Linked DNA regions of Homo sapiens: region 1 is linked to region 2. The links are contacts of gene promoters, found by promoter capture Hi-C in human tissues and cell types (Jung and others, 2019). All regions are on one chromosome and are shown on one strand. Each heading gives the region's core, a stretch centred on a gene start or on the middle of the fragment in contact. The rest is flanking DNA. Distances are from core to core; before and after follow the strand shown.

Region 1 (5,730 bases), core at 3,106-5,605, 83 kb after region 2:
CAAGTAACCGGGATTACAGGCACACGCCACTAGGCCCAGCTAATTTTTTTTGTATTTTTAGTAGAGACGGAGTTTCACCACATTGGCCAGGGTGGTCTCAAACTCCTGACCTCAAGTGATCCACCTGCTTTGGCCTCCCAGAGTGCTGGGATTACAGGCGTGAGCTACCATGCTGGCTGGATATTCTCCTTCATATGAACCCTATACAAAGTAAAACTAGATTATCAAATATTAAATGGCATCGTATCTACTAGCAATAATTTTATGGCAACATCTGTGAATTTACCTCTACTTTGAAGTATGTTTGCCTCTCACATCCCCACATGTGGAAGATTTCATCAATGGAAAAGTGGTGATTAATTGAAAATACAATTGTTTAGACAGGAAAAATAGCATATTTCACAACTACATCTACAGTTTCAAAAGATATGGTGTCTGGGATAGATTTGGGGACTTTTGCAAGGTAGACTGCTCTGTGTTACGCAATATTGCTAAGTACCTATGTTGACAAGAAAGCAGTTTCAGCATGGACTTCCATGATCCCAAGCAAAGAAATGATTTGATTTTGGATCTTTTCATTAAATTGAGAATAGTAGGGGTGAATCTGATTATAGATGAAAGCCATGAATCCATTTTGTATATGCAGAGTTTAAATGCTTATACATTTTCATTGAAGCAAAATCAACATATTCACAAGAGATTTAAAAAGGATATTTCTGGCCGGGCACGGTGGTTCATGCCTGTAATCCCAGCACTTCACTTTGGGAGGCCGAGGCAGGTGGATCACCTGAGGTCAGGAGTTCAAAACAAGCCTGGCCAACATGGTGAAACGTTGTCTCTACTAAAAATACAAAAATTAGCCAGGCGCGGTGGCAGCGCCTGTTATCCCAGTTACTAGGGAGGCTGAGGCAGGAGAATCACTTGAACCTGGGAGGCAGAGGCTGCAATGAGCCAAGATCGTGCCACTGCACTCCAGCCTGGGCAACAGAGCAGGACTCCATCTAAAAAAACAAAAAAAAAGAAGAAAGGATGGAAGGGGGAGGCTTAACCTTTGCTATCTGCTAGGATTACAGGGTCAAAATCGGCTTCTACATTGTCAACACATAACACCAAGTGAAACTCAAAACTAATGAACTTGCCCTGGTACCTTGGCCTTTGAGACTCGGCACTGAATCCAGCCTGGGCAACATAGTAAGACCCCATCTATACAAAAAAATTTAGAAATTATCCAGGTGTGGTGGTGCATGTCTATAGTCCCAGCTATTCAGGAGGCTGAAGTGAGTGTGAGATTGCAGTGAGCTATGATCGCACCACTCCAGCCTGGGTGACAGAGCCTGTCTCAAAAAACAAAAAACAGAAGAAAAAAGCTTTGAAGGGCACTCAGCCTTCACTGTGGGTGTACTGAATGTTCCTGTCACACATAAGAGACATCATTAACTGCTAAAGGAAAATTTCAGCTAATTGAAAAAATGAGATGCACCAACTTCATTTCAAAGCCATATACATTTAAAATTCCCTTACAATTGTGTAATAGATCAACAATTGAAAGATAAGGAAACAAGGCATTAGTGATGCACATGCTCCAATGAGACCCCGATATCATACAAGGTAACACTCCAAACTATTTTATCTTCCAAAATGCATCCGAAAGCTTCTTGATCTACAACACAAAATACTCCAAAATACCAAAGGTAACCCAGAAATTTATCTCTGAGATTTTCCCTATAATTCCTCTATTTTAAAAAGTATTCTTTATGTTTAAGGGAATGGTTGGCGACCTAAATTACCAGATACCGTTCCTCCACACACCCTGGTCCAGGGTCCTTGAAACGCCCCTGGACCTAAGCCCAGAGTTCTCTTTCTTCCATCCCGGTGCCTGGCAAATAGAAATGGAAACGATGTTCCGATCGTTGTCACTATGAAACTGAACACAGCACAAGTAGAAATTTCACCTTCGTTTCATCCTCTAAACAGACAAATCAGGTCCCGGATTAATTAAACGGTTCTAATTGCCAGTTCCAGGATGAAACCACTGCCCCACAGGGACCATCCGCTGATGCCCCTGCACCCCTCCTGGTACCCTGAGCTAAGATGAGTTGTGATCCTCTTAATGGTAGGATGCCTGTCTCCACCTGCAAACAAAATGAGTTTTTCACTTAAATCGTTTTCAATGTAAGAGTAAAAAAACCTTAGCCTTCAATTAAGTGGCCCAGTACCATTCTGTTCTTTTGCCTTAAATTGTTTGAAATGTTGGATTAACTGAAAATAAGCAGGAAGCGTCCCTGGACTGAAAATAAGCCGGAAGCATCCCTGCTTATTAACTGAAAATAAGCAGGAAGCATCCCCGGCTAATTTCAATTAGCTGAAACTTTATTTTAGCAGTGCAATGCTGTTGATCCAGTCCTAGTGGAGAGAAAGGCTGACATAGCAGAAAATGACCTGGGGCCAAGAGGAGTAGAGAGCCCAGGCCCGCTCCTTTCCCGGCCCTGCCCGCTTCCCACAGCCCAGGCTGCACCATAGCAGCTTCCACCCTCCCATCCCGCCGCCCTCTTCCAGCCCTTTCCCGTTGCCCAGACCCCAGCCCAGGGCGACTTTTACCCTTCTCACCCCACCCCTTCCCCACTGCCCAGGCCCCGCCCCCACGGTAGTCCCACCCTCCCACCCCACCCTCTTCCACCCCTTTCCCATTGCCCAGACCGCACCCCAGGGCGACTTTCACCCTCCTCACCCCGCCCCCTCCCCACTGCCCAGGCCCCGCCCACAGCAGTTCCACCCTCCCACACGACCCTCTTGCACCCCTTTCCCATTGCCCAGACCCCACCTCACGGTGGCTTCCACCCTCCCCACCTGGCCTCTCCCCACTATCCAAGACCCGCCTCTCGCTGGCGACAGCTCCCTCCCAGAATCCGCTTCCAGTTTTCTCACCGGCAGGAGAGCATTCAGGCCTTTCAGGGCACTCCAGCCCTGTCCAACCACACTCGGAATCCACCATCCCACCAGACGTTAAAATCCCCAGGTGCGCTCATGGGATTGGTAGCGAGTCCCAGCGTTTCCGCGGGAAACTCTGAGACCCGGTGGCTCTGCAGCTTGTCTATGATTTGAACCCTCCCCTTGATTTGGAGACTGGATTGCTCTTTTTAATACTCCCAGTTGGTGGCTGGTGTGCTTCCCAGCTGTCCGCAGGTTTGTTCTCATGAGAGATGACTCCAGAGTGTCTAGTCTTTGCTTTGCATAACGGATGAGGAATACAAAATGTCTTAATCTTATGAATATATAAATTGTCTGTTTATGCACAATGTTCAGTCGTTTATTCACTCATCTCCCGTGGAATCCTAAGCACAATTATAAAAGAGTCACGTTACATGAGATCAGCGTCTAACACAAAGCTTCTGTCTCAATAACAGTAAATAATAATAGCAACATTAAATGAAATATTAGTATTGCTAAAATGGGAGTGTAGTAAAAATTAAATAAGTAAATAATTAAAAGGAAATGATATATGGTCAGGTGCGGTGACTTATGCTTGTAATCCCAGCACTTTGGGAGGCCGAGGTGGGCAGATCATATGAAGTCAGGAGTTCAAGACCAGCTGACCAACATGGTAAAACCCTGTCTCTACTAAAAATACAAAAAAATGACCCAGGAGTGGTGGCACATGCCTGTAGTCCCAGCTACTCCAGAGGGTGAGGCAGGAGAATTGCTTGAACTCAGGAGACAGAGGTTGCAGTGAGCTGAGATCGCACCACTGCACTCCAGCCTGGGAGACAGAACGAGACTCCGTCTCAAAATAAATAAATAACTGAATGAATGAATGAAATATTAGGCCATTTTTATGGTCTTCACTTTGGGAGACTGATGTATGCAGGGGTGGACTGCATGTTTGTCCTTGGGGTGGTCTTTTTCGTGAGAAGGGAGCTGAGCAGGACTAACTGAGGGGCAGAGCCAAGGGCCCTTCATGGAGACCACTCTGCTTACCAACCTGTGGAAGGGCAAGCGCAAGTCCACCCAGAAACACATCTGGCTGACTATGGGATCCCTGTCTGAGGCTCAGCAGACCCACGTGGCCAATAAAAGACCCTAAATTCTGCAAAAAGAAGAGTTTGTCTCTGTGCCCAGGCCCCTCCATGGAAAAAAGGTCCTGGGGTCTAAGATTTCTCACTTGGCAATGATGTTGGCTTGAATATTATTCACAGACCCAGATCCTTGGGTCTTGCGTGGGGCAAACTGACTGCAGAACTGCAGGAAGTGAGAGTCTGAACAGAGCAGCAGAAAGGCAGGCAGGAGACCTGAGGGAGGGGAGAAAGGAGAGAGACAAACAGACCAACCCGTCCTCTCCCTCAATCACCCGCCTGGGGAAGCATTAGTTTCCCATCATAGAGAGGACAACGGGGAAAGGGAGAAGCGTGTGCATAGGATGAGATGTGTGTTGGGTGGACAGAAAGACTCCTTTCCCTAAATGTGACCCCATTAGCTCACCCCATTCTATTGCACAAATTCCTGAGCGGAGGGGCACCCTGTGGGGATGAACACAGCTCTTCCTGCCTCCAGTTCCTGCGTCTCCCTGCCATGACCAGGGCTGTAACCCTCCAACTCCCTTCCCAGGGCCCCGTGGCCCCTCTGCACTGGAGAAAGGTCCATGTTCCACAGCGGGTTTCAAGGACCTTGCCCCTCAGCTCCCCAGCTGCCTTGTGACTCTGTGACTCTGTTATCTTGGAATAAACAGGGAGAGGCCACCGGCCTGGCTGCAAGAATGTGGCAGCTTTATCTTCCCAAGGACAGTCCCAGTGGAAGCCTTTGGGCCGCAGGTCAGTGTGCTGTGTTTCACTCTGATTCTTGGAGAAATCTTTCCCTTACTCTGGGACCCTGATAATCACTCCCTCTTGAGTTGCACCCACAGACGCCCCCACAACAAACCCTCCCTAATGAAAGCCATCTGCGCCTGATTCTTAGGATCCCCGTTGCCCTCTGGACTCAGACACGCTTACAAACTCCCACACTCCCCATATACTTCATAAAGATCCCACAATCCCCAGATACTTCATAAAGATCCAGAAGCCCTGTTATGAAATCTCACAAGCCCCAGTAACTCATGGAATAATATACACAAACACCCCAGGAACTCACTGACCCAGGGCAACGTATTTCCACTCATAGTGACTCCACCCCACAGGGGAATACCACTGAAACCTACCAATAAAACAGAGATGTCTCTAATGATGCAATTAGACCCCAACATCAGGAAAGGAAACACTCCAAATGATCATTTCATCTTCCAAAACACAACTGAAAGCTTATTGATCTGCAACTGAAAATACCCCGAATGCCAAAGGCAACCCAGAAAATAATCTCTGAGATTCTTCCTATCTTTCCTCTATGGGTTTCAGGATGGTTTTTGCACTTCCCAAAGCCTCCACAGAAATCACCCCGTGGAGCGGATGCTGTGGAGCAGCTCTGGGATCCACACCCTCAGGCCAAGGCGCCCATCCTCCTGCTGCTGAAGCTCCCTCTGGGCTCAGCTTAGGTCTTGGTTCTAAGTACACTTCGGGATGTTTTTCTCTGCCTGATTCCACTGCCTTCAGTCCTCTTCACTGTGATGATGAGTTTCCGAATTAAATTCCTGCATGCAAATCTCTGTGTCAGCATCTGTTTCCCAGGTAACCTGAGCTGAGACATCAGGGCATTACAAAATGATCCTGCAGCCCCACAACCACCCCAAAACCCACTTCCAGG
Region 2 (6,355 bases), core at 3,011-5,510:
AGCTATCCTCAGTCGTCCACTCCAGAGACCTCAACCAGGAGGCTTCAATGATTTCCTGGTCAACCCACCTCAACCTCCTCTTCCTGAGACCAAAGAGAAAGAGCAAGCACCCCCAGCTCCTTCCTCCTTGTATCGCACTCTTAGCCTTCATGGGTCAGCCTCAACCTACACTAGGCCCTCAGGCCCCCGCTCTGGAATCTGCCTGCTACCAGTGGTGAGCCGACCAGTAGGACCAGTCCAAGTCCAGGTCCCCTTTTCCATGCAGGACTTGTCCCAAGTTAAGGAAGGCCTGGGAAAATTCTCAGAGAATCCGGGAAAATTCCTGGAGGGCTTCCGTAAATTAACCCTCACTTTTGAACTAACCTGGAAGGATGTCGCCATCCTCCTAGGACAAACCCTGTCTCTGGAAGAAAGACAGACCATCTGGGAGGCAGCACGTCAATGCGGGGATGAGCTACACTTGGCAGATGCCAACTACCCCGTGGGAGCTACAGCTGTCCCCCTGCAGGACCCCAACTGGGACTACGATACCCCGGCAGGAATCTGCGCCAGAAATCATATGCTCCTATGCCTGATAGAGGGAATGAAAAGGAGTCAAGTCAAGCCTGTCAATTATAATAAGTTAGCAACCATCGACCAAGGGCCACATGAGAATCCCACGGCCTTTCTCGAAAGGCTCCAGGAAACTCTTATCAAACATACCAACCTAGACCCGGGATCCCCAGAAGGACAACTAGTCCTAAAGGATCACTTCCTCACACAAGCTGCCCCAGACATTAGGAGAAAACTGCGAATGCTGGCTTTGGGAACTAGAGCCCCCATGTCAGAAATCCTCAAATTCGCTTCCTCAGTGTTTTATAACCGAGACCAGGATGAGAGGGACAGGGCCGAGAGGAAGGAAAAACAGAAAGAAGAGAGGCAGGCTCAATTACTAGCTGCTTTGCAAGTTCACCAGCCCCCTCCAGGTTGCCCTAAGGATACCTTCCCAGGGAACTGCTATCAGTGCGGGAAGCCGGGCCATTGGAAGGCAAACTGCCCCTACGGGCCAAGGGGGGAAAAGCCCTGCACGGCCTGTCCCCTCTGCCGTAAGCTCAGGTACTGGAAAGAGAACTGTCCCGAGAGCCAAAAGGGCCCCTGAGCCAATGATGGCTTTGAGCTGAGGGTGCCCTCTGCCTTGGCCAGCTCCCAGATGTGACATCATCATCAAAGGGATGGAGCCCAGGGCAACTCTGGATGTAGCAGGTAGGACAATACATTTTCTATTTGATTTGAGAGCAGCCTGCTCGGTGCTGACCCCCTTCTCTAGGCAACTTTCCTCTGTCAGGTAATCAGGGTAAATGGCATCTCTTCCTAAGATTTACACCTTCTTTATTGTTAAAAGACCAATTAATCTTTTCCCATGAGTTCCTGATACTGTCTGAATGTCCCATACGTCTTTAGGGCAGGGATATACTCTCCAAACTAGGGGCACGCTTCACATTTACCTGAACTTCCCTGAAAGGCTTTCTTTTTTTTTGGAAGACTCACCCATGACATTGCTGAATTATCTTGATCTGGAATCACAAATAACCCTGAGATATGGGCTTTGATACACTAGGAAGGGCAATAACTGCAGTCCCAGTCAAAATCCAGCTAAGAAAACCTTCCACTTCTTTCATAAGAAACAATACTCGCTATGGCCAGAGGCAACAGAAGGACTTGAGCCTATCATTAACCCATTCCTTAGACATGGCCTGTTAAAGTCTGTAACTCTCCCTGCAACACAGGAAATCTATTCTGCTGGTAGAAAACATTTAAAGGGTTCTCCACTACTGAACCCTGATTAAGTCTGGTTTTCTGATGGCGGCAGTTTCATCCAACATGGAGTGACACATGCAGTTATGCAATAGTGTCTCTATTTGACATTATAGAAGCCAAATCCCTTCCTCCAAGAACATTGGCACAGCTAGCAGAGCTCATTTCCTTAACTAGAGCCATAGAAATAGGGAAAAACCCAAAAGCTACAATTTATACAGATTCAAAATATGCCCTCTCAGGACTCCATGCTCATGTGGCCATCTGGAAGGAACAGGGATTTTTACCAGCAAAAGATACCCCTAAGGAATGTGGACCACAGATCCTGGCCCTGCTCTAAGCTGTACACCTATCACAGGAAATAGCTGTAGTCCATGGCCAGGGACACCAAAGGACCAGGGAGAAAATGCCCAGCAAAACAGGAGGGTGGATCAAACAGCCAGGACCACTACCCTGTAGGGAACTCCTCATGGCCCTTAACCCATCTTTACCCAACACCTTACCCACCCACAAAAACCCAAGAGGAAAAGGAATGGGCTATCAAATATGAATCTACCCGAGAACCTGAGGTGTGGTATACAGTGGGAGGAATTCTCCACTTTCCTAGGCCCTCCAGTAAAAACTTGTGAGAGCACTCCATGAGTCATGTCACTTTGGGAGACATCATCTCCAGCACATGTGCAAAAACCTCTTTTCCAGGAAAGGGCTCTACTAGACTATTTGTCAGGTCTTTAACACCTGTGCATCCTGTGCCTGTAATAGCCCCCAGGGCCCTACGCTGCCCTGCTTTTTTTTTTTTTTTTTTTTTTTTTTGAGTCAAAGTTTCACTCTTAGTACCCAGGCTGGAGTGCAACGGCGTGATCTCAGCTCATCGCAATCTCTCCCTCCCAAGTTCAAGCGATTCTCCTGCCTCAGCCTCCTGAGTAGCTGGGATTACAGGCAGGTGCCACCAAAAAAAGACCAAAAAAAATTTTTTTTTTTTTTTGGTATTTTTAGTAGAGATGGGGTTTCTCCATGCTGGTCAGACTGGTCTTGAACTCCCAACCTCAGGTAATCCGCCTGCCTCGGCCTCCCAAAGTGCTGGGATTACAGGCATGAGCCACCGTGCCCAGCCAAATTTTTTTTTTTGTTCAATGTTGCCCAGGTTGGCCTCAAACGCGTAGCCTTGCCTCCTTGTGACCCAGGACAACCGGCCAGAGCCAATGCAGCTCCCTGTCCTGCTTAGTTGAGCCAGTTCAGCATTGGGAAGCTTACCCAGGGAAAGACTGATGGATGTATTTCACTCAATTGCCAGCCTGTAGAGGCTATAAATGCCTTCTGGTGTTTGTGGACACCTTTATTGGGTGGGTTAAAGCCTTTCCTACAAGAACAGAAAAGGCCCAGGAAGTAGCCAAGGTACTTCTTAAAAAAAAAAAAAAAATCATCCCGGCCGGGCGTGGTGGCTCACTTCTGTAATCTCAGCACTTTGGGAGGCCGAGGCAGGCGGATCACGAGGTCAGAGAATTGAGACCATCCTGGCTAACACAGTGAAATCCTGTCTCTACTAAAAAAGAGAAAAAATTAGGTGGGTGTGGTAGCGGGCGCCTATAGTCCCAGCTACTCAGGAGGCTGAGGCAGAAGAATGGTGTGAACCCGGGAGGTGGAGCTTGTGGTGAGCTGAGATTGTGCCACTGCACTCCAGCCTGGACAACAGAGCGAGACTCCGTCTCAAAAACAAAAAGAAAAAAAAAATCACCCCTCAGTGTGGGTTTAGTTTGTGTTTACAAAGTGACAACGGCCCAGTTTTTATTTCACGCACCCTTTAATTAGTGACAAAAGCCCTAGAAATAAAGTACTCCTAGCACTCCTGGAGAACACATTCCTCTGGCAAGGTAGAAAGCACTAATCAAACTATTAAAAGGACCCTGAACAAAGTGTGCCAGGAAACCTCCTCACCATGGTTAGAACTCCTGTCCGTAGCACTGTTCTGAGCATGACCCCTAATATTACTTATGCCTTCCTACATGCAGACCTAATGTTAGATCCAGAAGTTACCCAATTAATCAAATACATAACATCACTGGCCCAATTTCAACAAGCCATCCAGGAGTTTGAGCAAAAGGTACTGCCTGCCACTGACCCCTCCAGTAATCAACCCTTATACTAGCCAGGGTCACAAGTCCTCATCAAAACCTGGAGAGATGGGTCACCCAGGTCTCAACTAGCCTGGGTCTCTCCTTTATGGAAAGGCCCCTTTATTACTTTCTACCCCGACAGCTATCAAAGTTTCTGGAATCTCTAGTTGGATACATCACTCCTGAGTAAAACTGTGAGAAGGTCCCGAAGAACCAACAACAGAATCAGCATCTGAGTAGTCTCATGAGCCAGCCACTGGAGAGCTTCCAATTCCTCTTCAAGTGAAAAGATAAGTAAAGCCTTCTCTCCTTTCACCTCAAAAAAAGGTCTCTCAGTACGGGGAATCTTGGTTGCGGTGGCATCGGTTCTTCTCCTTATTTTGACCCACACTGGCATGCCACCTGAAGTCCCGATAACAGCCTGATTTCTCACTAAACACTCCATCGAACCATTTCATTATTTGTCTCTCCTATTTTCAGCACTTTCCTTTTGCTTTCACAAAGCTTAAGGGAGAATCAGCTATGACAGAGAAATTCCTTTTCCTTTATCTTTCCCTCCTTCCCATGCCCCTACTCTCACAGGCACAGTGGAATGAAAATTCCCTTGTCAGTTTTTCCAAAATAATTGCTTCGGGAAACCATCTAAGCAACTGTTGGATCTGCCACAACTTCATCACCAGGTCCTCATCTTACCAATATATTTTGGTAAGAAATTTTTCTTTAAACCTAACATTTGGTTCAGGAATCCCTGAAGGCCAACATAAATCTGTTCCGCTCCAGGTTTCGCTTGCTAACTCAGCGCACCAAGTCCCCTGCCTGGATCTCACTCCACCTTTCAATCAAAGCTCTAAAACTTCTTTCTATTTCTACAACTGCTCTTCTCTAAACCAAACCTGTTGTCCATGCCCTGAAGGACACTGTGACAGGAAGAACACCTCTGAGGAGGGATTCCCCAGTCCCACCATCCATCCCATGAGCTTCTCCCCAGCAGGCTGCCACCCTAACTTGACTCACTGGTGTCCAGCTAAACAAATGAACGATTATCGAGACAAGTCACCCCAAAACCGCTGTGCAGCTTGGGAAGGAAAAGAGCTAATCACATGGAGGGTTCTATATTTGCTTCCCAAGGCACACACTGTCCCCACATGGCCAAAATCTACTGTTCCCCTGGGAGGGCCTCTATCCCCTGCATGCAATCAAACTATTCCAGCAGGGTGGAAATCGCAGTTACACAAGTGGTTCGACAGCCACATCCCCCGGTGGGCCTGTACCCCTCCTGGCTATGTATTTTTATGTGGGCCACAAAAAAATAAACTGCCCTTTGATGGAAGTCCTAAGATAACTTATTCAACCCCCCCTGTGGCAAACCTCTACACTTGCATTAATAACATCCAACATACGGGAGAATGTGCTGTGGGACTTTTGGGACCACGGGGGATAGGTGTGACCATTTATAACACCACCCAACCCAGACAGAAAAGAGCTCTGGGTCTAATACTGGCAGGGATGGGTGCGGCCATAGGAATGATCGCCCCATGGGGAGGGTTCACTTATCATGATGTCACCCTCAGAAATCTCTCCAGACAAATAGACAACATAGCTAAGAGTACCAGAGATAGCATCTCTAAACTCAAGGCCTCCATAGATTCTCTAGCAAATGTAGTCATGAACAACAGATTGGCCTTAGATTACCTCTTAGCAGAGCAGGGTGGAGTCTGTGCAGTGATCAGTAAATCCTGTTGCATTTATGTCAATAACAGTGGGGCGATAGAGGAGGATATAAAAAAGATCTATGATGAGGTTACGTGGCTCCATAACTTTGGAAAAGGTGATTCAGCAGGGTCCATTTGGGAGGCTGTGAAGTCTGCCCTCCCCTCCCTCACATGGTTTGTCCCTTTACTGGGACCAGCTGCACTTAATAGCCTGCTTTCTCCTCTTTGGCCCTTGTCTCTATAATTCACTAATTAAATATGTCTCTTCCAGGATATGGCAATTTCACACAGAGCCCCTAAAAATGGAAAGAGATCATCCAATCTTCCTTGGAGGTCCCAGCACCTACAAGTACATATCTCCCTTGGATGCCAGTGGGCAAAGATTCTGCAACTACGGAGGGGCTCCTTCCCTGACAGAGAGCAAGAGAGGGAGACCCTGATGACTTCTTCGTCCCACGTCAGCAGGAAGTAGTTACAGAAGACCCACGACGTCCTTATGCCCAAAGCTTTTCAGGGTCTCCAACTCTTGAGGGGGAATACTGTTAGGGTAGGCAGGTAGCCAGACAAGAGCAGGCAAGGAAGCCCCTGGGAAAGGAATCTTTAGAAATGCAGCCCGCTGATGGCCTCCTTGGAAACGCTGCACGCTGAGTCAGCAAAAGGAGGAGCGTGGCTACACTGGCTACACCTGGCCTTGTGGCTGCATTCCTCTGTTCCAGAAGGGAACTTATCAAGGCC

The links. Contacts are between HindIII fragments. The study calls those that stand out against the background at their distance.
Region 1: a fragment that was not itself captured here is called in contact with the fragment with the promoter of ERVV-1 in region 2 in 5 of the 25 tissues and cell types used here (bladder, dorsolateral prefrontal cortex, heart right ventricle and 2 more).

The regions. Positions count from the first base shown.
Region 1 is chr19:53,092,435-53,098,164 of GRCh38, forward strand. The region is part of intron 1 of ZNF160 (zinc finger protein 160); the gene reads right to left. Among named protein-coding and RNA genes, the nearest start is that of ZNF160, 8.1 kb to the right of the region's middle. The HindIII fragment of the contact is 5,693 bases long and covers 1,510-5,730 here.
Region 2 is chr19:53,009,661-53,016,015 of GRCh38, forward strand. It overlaps ERVV-1 (endogenous retrovirus group V member 1, envelope), which reads left to right and starts at 4,261. Exons shown (of 1, transcript NM_152473.3): 1 at 4,261-6,355. The coding sequence starts at 4,431. The coding sequence ends at 5,864. All of the region lies in intron 1 of LOC124904758 (a long non-coding RNA gene), which reads right to left. The HindIII fragment of the contact is 3,820 bases long and covers 1,450-5,269 here.